2 separate regions of the Homo sapiens genome follow, and region 2 is linked to region 1. Evidence: promoter capture Hi-C in human tissues and cell types (Jung and others, 2019). All regions are on one chromosome and are shown on one strand. The core of a region is centred on a gene start or on the middle of the fragment in contact, and the rest is flanking DNA. Distances in the headings are between cores, read along the strand shown. Region 1 holds the start of RALGPS1 (Ral GEF with PH domain and SH3 binding motif 1). Region 2 overlaps ZBTB43 (zinc finger and BTB domain containing 43).

Region 1 (3,440 bases), core at 509-3,008:
TTGAACCTGGGAGACGGAGGTTGCAGTGAGCCAAGATCGTGCCACTGCACTCCAGCCTGGGCAACAGAGCAAGACTCCGTCTCAAAAAAAAAAAAAAAAAAAAAGAAAGAAACGGAGGCACATAGATATGCTAAGTAACTTGCTCACATGTACACAGCTTGCTGGTGGCAGAGCCAGGGCAGAACCATTGCACTACACTGTCTCTTGTTCTCTCTCTCTCTTCTTTTTTTTTTTTGGGACGAAGTCTCGCTCTGTCGCCCAGGCTGGAGTGCAGTGGTGCGATCTCAGCTCACTGCAAGCACCGCCTCCCAAGTTCACGCCGTTCTCCTGCCTCAGCCTCCCGAGTAGCTGGGACTACAGGCGTCCGCACCACGCCCGGCTAATTTTTTGTATTTTTAGTAGAGACAGGTTTTCACCATGTTAGCCAGGATGGTCTCTCTCTCTTTTTTGAGACAGGGTATCGCTCTGTCATCCAGGCTGGAGTGCAGTGGCGCCATCACTTGAGGCTCACTGCAGCCTTGACCTCCCGGGCTCAAGTGATACTCCCATCTCACTCTCCTGAGTAGCTGGGACTACAGTCTGCGCCACCACGCCTCGCTAATTTTTGTATTGTTATTAGAGACAGGGTCTGGCCATGTTGCCCAGGCTGGTCTCACACTTCTGAACTCAAGCAATCCTCCCGCTTTGGCTTCCCAAAGTGCTGGGATTACAGGCATGAGCCAACTCGCCAGGCTCTTGTTCTCTTTATGCAAAATAATTAAGCACCTTCTTCGATGATTACCGTTTTCTTAATACAAAATAGCAGAAACTTCTCCCAGAGGTCTTTTAAGACACAGGTGGTTTAACTTCTACTGACTCTATTTATATTCTTTTTTGTTTGTTTCTTTTTTCCTTTCATAAGCTTTGGGAAGCATAATAACCAATCATTCCATATTCATTCATATTACTGCAAAATTACTTTGAAGATTGTCAGAATGATGTTCTATTTGTCCAAGAATCTTTCGGAGTAGGGCAGGTCATAGTACCTCCTGTCTGTGGGAGGCAGAACGGAGTTTTGCTGTGGTTCCAGATTTCCAGGGATTCACAGACCTGGCTTCAATTGTCTTTGCAATTTATTATCCCTGCGACTCTAGCTAAATGACTTAACCTCTGTGCCCACCTCACCGTGCCTGGCACAGAGTAAAGATGTGGGAGCAGAGAGACAGGATCCGGGCTCATTCCCCAGCTTTGCTCCTGTGTGGTCTTGGGCAAGTCCCTTCACCTCGTTGGGCCTAACTCTGCCCAGCTGTAAAATGGATGAGACCGCCCCCCCCCCCGCCCCGCCAGGAACTCCGAGGTTTCTTCTGGCTCTGACGTTCTGGGCTCTGTGCCTACCTCCCAGCTGTGAAGAATGGGCACTAAGGCGATGTCTCGCTCACAAAACCATTTTTGTTGAAAACGATAAATCCCAGGTAGGGATTTACGGGGGATATCGGGTGAGGCCTGGACGGCCGTGTGGGGAATAAGATGCGCGGCTATTTCTAGGCAGGGGATGGGCGTGGCGGGCGGCGGGCCGGGTGTGCTGGCAGCGCAGCATCCCTGCGGGCGGGGAGGGCGTCTGCAGATGAGCTCGGAGGCCGAGGCCCGGGAGGACCGCGGATGCAGCGGCTGCGCACTGGTACGACCAGCCGGCCGATTTGCGTGTCTCCGCCCCTACAACGAGCTGGTTGGGGGGCTGTTCTGGTGCCGCGCGCCGATTGGATGAGAGGCCCGCCGCTCAGGCCCTGGAGCGGACGGTTCCTACTGCGGCTGGGCACCGGCTCCGCTCCCGCGTCTGCCCGCGCTCCAGCTGCGCCTGGCCCGGCCCCGGCCCGGCTCGGCGTGGCCCCGGCCTCCAAGCGAAGGCGCCGCTGCCGCTGGGCCGCTCCCAGGGCCATGAGGAAGCGGCGGCAGCCACTGCGGCCCGCGTCAAGGTGACCGGCCGGGACTGCGGCGGCGGGGAGAGCGGCGGTGAGAGGCGCGGCCGACGGGGCGGGGCGGGGCGGGGCGGGCCCTGAGGCCGGGCCTGAGGGAGCTGCAGGTGTGGGGGGCGGGACCCCGAGGGCCGCCGAAGCCGGGGAGGGGCCTCGGTGCGGGAGGCGGGGCCGGGGCCGTGCCTGCGGGTGCCCGGCGCCGGGGCCTGGCCGGGGTCCGGGGGTTCTGGGGTCCGGGGCCAGGGGCGCGCTGGTCCCCGGGAGCGTGAAGGACGGCGGGGAAGAGGCGCGGGCGCGGGGGGCGGGGCCGGGGGGGCAGTTGGGCGGGGCGCCGCGGCTGCAGGTGCGGGGGGCGGGGCCGGCGGGGCTGCCGTGGGCGGGGCTGTGGGGTGCGGCCCGCGCTGGACCCAAGGAAAGCACAGGTGCGGGGGGCGGGGCCCGGGGACCTGCAGCGGTGGGGGGCGGGGCCCGGGTGGCTGCGGTACGGAAGCAGGGCCCCAGGTGAGGAGCAGGCGAGGGTGAGTGGTCGCCCGAGAAGGAAAGGCCGCCCTCTCCGCTGCCCAGGGGTGCTTGGGTGGGAGCGGGGGCTTTGGGCTCCCTGAGGATTCTGGGGGCATCCGGGGCTGCCGCTAGAAGGGCCGTCCGGGCCTGCCTGTGCCTCTGCTGACTCGGGCTTGGAGCTCAGCTGCCCTGGTTACTGGCCGGTTGCCTCCCCTATGCTACGCCGCGCCCTAAGTGGGGCGCGCTGTTTTTCGCACCTCAGGGGCTTTCCTGTTGCTATTGAAGGGGCTTGCCAGGATGCGGGGGGCGGGGGGTTGGTTGTCATTGGATGATCGGTTGTTGAAAAATGTGTGTGCTTGAAGAGTAGTATGAGGCTTGGGAGGGGTCCTGGCTTGCTGGCCACTGGTACCAGAAGCTGCTGTAGATCTCAGCAGTGCGTCTCAAAAAGACTGAAATGGCAGCCTGTTAAGTGGGGAGAGCAGGGATGAGAATTCAGAAGCTTTTGACTATGCTACCTGGGAGAGTTTTTCACCTGTTTCCTCCGTTGCAAAATGAGCATGTTAGTACCTGCCTGTGTGCCTCCCAGGGGCCTGGTGAGGATAGGATGAAACAGTGCCTACTGAGCAAATCGCTGGATAAAGTTATGAGTTTCCTTTTTCTTGTGCCGATGGGCAGGTTGGATTCAGGGACTGGAGAGTCTAAAGAAGAGAGGGTTTGTTTCTAGTTAAGAGGTGAGACTAGACCACTGTCTTTTCGCAGTTTGGGATGAGGTTTTGTTGGGAGTTCCCAAAAGACTCAGCCGTGTCTTGGATCGTGACTGCTTCTCTCTGCGAGGCCTCTGAGGGAGCTGCTGCAACGCAGGGAGCAGTGGCAAGTGGAAGCAGCAGAACATTTGTTTGCTGACCTTTAGACCCCAACCCCGGTGAGGACTCTGAGCTGGAACATAAAGCTCAGGCCTGAGGCTATGGAAGTCCCTCTGCCCCCATC
Region 2 (3,440 bases), core at 463-2,962, 81 kb before region 1:
ACAATGGAGGAGGGGATAAAATAAGTTTATCTTTGGGCTGGAATTTGTACTAATTTTTCTTTCTCTTGTAGCACCGAACAAGATTTGTGATGAAATGGAGCCTGGAACAAACTCTTTTCGGGTAGAATTTCCTGATTTTTCCAGCACCATTCTACAGAAACTGAACCAGCAGCGCCAGCAAGGACAATTATGTGACGTCTCCATTGTTGTCCAAGGCCACATTTTCCGGGCACACAAAGCCGTTCTTGCTGCCAGTTCACCCTACTTTTGTGACCAGGTACTCCTGAAAAACAGCAGGAGAATTGTTTTGCCTGATGTGATGAACCCAAGAGTGTTTGAGAACATTCTCCTATCTAGTTATACAGGACGTCTAGTAATGCCCGCTCCAGAAATTGTTAGTTACTTGACAGCGGCAAGCTTCCTCCAGATGTGGCATGTGGTAGACAAATGCACTGAAGTTTTAGAGGGAAACCCTACAGTCCTTTGTCAGAAGCTAAATCATGGCAGTGACCACCAGTCACCAAGCAGCAGTAGTTATAATGGCCTGGTAGAGAGCTTTGAGCTGGGCTCTGGGGGTCATACTGATTTTCCCAAAGCCCAAGAACTGAGAGATGGTGAAAATGAAGAGGAGAGCACCAAAGACGAGCTGTCATCCCAGCTCACCGAGCACGAATACCTGCCCAGCAACTCGTCCACAGAGCATGACCGCCTGAGCACGGAAATGGCAAGCCAGGATGGGGAGGAGGGCGCCAGCGACAGCGCCGAGTTCCACTACACCCGGCCCATGTACAGCAAGCCCAGCATCATGGCTCACAAACGCTGGATCCACGTGAAGCCCGAGCGCTTAGAACAGGCTTGCGAGGGCATGGATGTGCACGCGACCTACGACGAGCACCAGGTCACAGAGTCCATCAACACCGTGCAGACAGAGCACACGGTGCAGCCTTCGGGAGTGGAGGAGGACTTCCACATCGGGGAGAAGAAAGTGGAAGCTGAGTTTGATGAACAGGCTGATGAAAGCAATTATGATGAGCAGGTGGATTTCTATGGCTCTTCCATGGAAGAGTTTTCCGGAGAGAGGTCAGATGGGAATCTAATTGGGCACAGACAGGAGGCTGCCCTCGCAGCAGGTTACAGTGAGAATATTGAAATGGTAACAGGGATTAAAGAAGAAGCTTCCCACTTAGGATTCTCAGCCACTGACAAGCTGTATCCTTGTCAGTGTGGGAAAAGTTTCACTCACAAGAGTCAGAGAGATCGGCACATGAGCATGCACCTCGGTCTTCGGCCTTACGGCTGTGGGGTCTGCGGTAAGAAATTCAAAATGAAGCACCATCTCGTGGGCCACATGAAAATTCACACAGGCATAAAGCCGTATGAGTGTAATATCTGTGCAAAGAGGTTTATGTGGAGGGACAGTTTCCACCGGCATGTGACTTCTTGTACTAAGTCCTACGAAGCTGCAAAGGCTGAGCAGAATACAACTGAGGCTAACTAAAAATAGGATCTGGCCCTTGAGTGGCATGCACAAAAATAAACTATGGTAATTAATGCAAATCTGGGCACAGATGATGCGTGCTACTTGCTATTATGAGAGAAGCTTAAAAAAAAAAAGGAAGATATTTCTGAAAGACCAGCTCTAAGTAGGCCAATTAAAAAAATCTAATTCCTCAAATTTGTGTGTTCCAGTCCTGGCCTGGAATGGGTAATGGGGTGAGTTAACCCACCGCCCAGCTGGCAAGGGAAACCTTCTGACTGGTTGTGATCGAAACAGGTGGACAGAGACACCTGCACTTGGAACTGGACTCCACCCACCAGTTCCATTTTGGGTGGCAGCAGCTTTGGATCACTCATTATTACAAGGTCATGCTGAAATTTTATTTTGCTCTTGCTATAGATACTTAGGTAATGTGGATTTGTTTTGGTAGCTATTTCACTGAAGGAAGTGCTACTTATATAAAAGCTAGAAATAATGTGATTCCTAGGATGAGAAATTGGTTAACAGAGCTCTGTTGTCTGGTTTTAGTCTTTCTAAAGGATATTTTAACTAAAACTATGGAGATGCTAAGAGAGTGACTTTCTAAATATGAAACAGATAATTTACGGTACAAGGCTGACATAGTGCCCTTGTCAGTTTCTGTAAGATGCCACTACTGTCACAAGGTGTTTCAGACTCTTGATAAGGCAGTGTTTTGTATTTTAGTTCTAACATTGAGTTTGGACAATTTTATCTAATTGTAATTCTCTAGGGTGCCAGAGATAGGTATTTCTCATTGGTTTGCTTTCCCAAATCCTGTTTGGTTAATTGTAGCCTCCATACAGTGGGGTCTTCTCTGTGGCTGGTAGACACCAAGCTGCTGTGACTGACCACGGTACCACGGGCTGCCACAGCCCCTGCTCTGTCTTAGATTATGGTGCTTTACAAAGAGAGTGGTCCATGACCACACTTAGTGAGAAGGAGCCACAAGTTGTGGCTGAGAGTTCCCTGTGAACTTGAGTAGTTCATAGAGTGCTAAGGTGACACTCCACCAACCAGAGTGAGAGGGCAGATAGGCAGGATTCTATGAGTGGTTATACTTAAGGGGGACAAAACTGCCCAAGAAGAATCTTGAGAATACACTCTTTCAAGGTGGGGGAGATACTCTTTAGAGGGTACACTGAGCTAATACTACCAGTTCTTTATGAGCACTGGAATGTGTTTGTAAAAGGAGTCCTAAGTTTAGCAAGGTAGTCTACAGAACCATGCTCCCACATTATAGATAAAGCTGCTTAAACTTAAAAGTCCACAAAGCTACGCCGACCAGAAAAAAAAAATTAAAAAAACAAACAAGAAAAGCAACTATTCTGAGACCTTTTCTGCCCATCAGTTAGATGATTTAGGTTAAAAAGAAAGGTAATATTGCACATGCTTTTAAGCTGTGTAACATACCTGAGGTTATCACCAGGGTAGGACAGGGTGCTACTACCATGTCATCTTTTCCACAATCGTACTGGGTTATTTACTTCTAAATAGAAACTTTTTTTTCTTAAAATAAAAATAATTTTTCTTGGATTTGGGGTGAAATTTTATTTGAAAAGTTTGGCTTTGCTGTAATGTAATAGACATTGCTGGCAATGGCCTCTGATTCTCAAGCTCCTAACACCAGGGTGTTTACTTGTTGAACATTGTCTGGAAAGAGGAAAGAAAATACTTATTTACCAGTTAACTCTTGTAAGCAAGATTACAAACAGGGATTTATTCACAACACTGTATCATTCTCGATATATAAAAAGCACTTTGTATTTAAAACTTTATTATAAATATATATATATATTGTTTTTTTTTAAACCTAGAAACTAGATATTACCTCTTGGTTGTTTGCCACATTAATAGCTTCTCTTAGTATTGAAACGTTACTGGTTAGCAGTCTTTTCTCTGTGTACCTGACACACGTATACTG

What was found. Contacts are between HindIII fragments. The study calls those that stand out against the background at their distance.
Region 2: a fragment that was not itself captured here is called in contact with the fragment with the promoter of RALGPS1 in region 1 in 2 of the 25 tissues and cell types used here (dorsolateral prefrontal cortex and spleen).

Annotation. Positions count from the first base shown.
Region 1 is chr9:126,913,024-126,916,463 of GRCh38, forward strand. It overlaps RALGPS1 (Ral GEF with PH domain and SH3 binding motif 1), which reads left to right and starts at 1,759. Exons shown (of 19, transcript NM_014636.3): 1 at 1,759-1,952. RefSeq lists a silencer at 1,731-2,160 and an enhancer at 2,651-2,720. The HindIII fragment of the contact is 6,028 bases long and covers 1-3,440 here.
Region 2 is chr9:126,832,416-126,835,855 of GRCh38, forward strand. ZBTB43 (zinc finger and BTB domain containing 43) reads left to right here. Exons shown (of 3, transcript NM_014007.4): 3 at 72-3,440. The coding sequence starts at 95. The coding sequence ends at 1,498. Among named protein-coding and RNA genes, the nearest start is that of ZBTB34, 27 kb to the right of the region's middle. RefSeq lists enhancers at 291-792, 793-1,292. The HindIII fragment of the contact is 3,087 bases long and covers 170-3,256 here.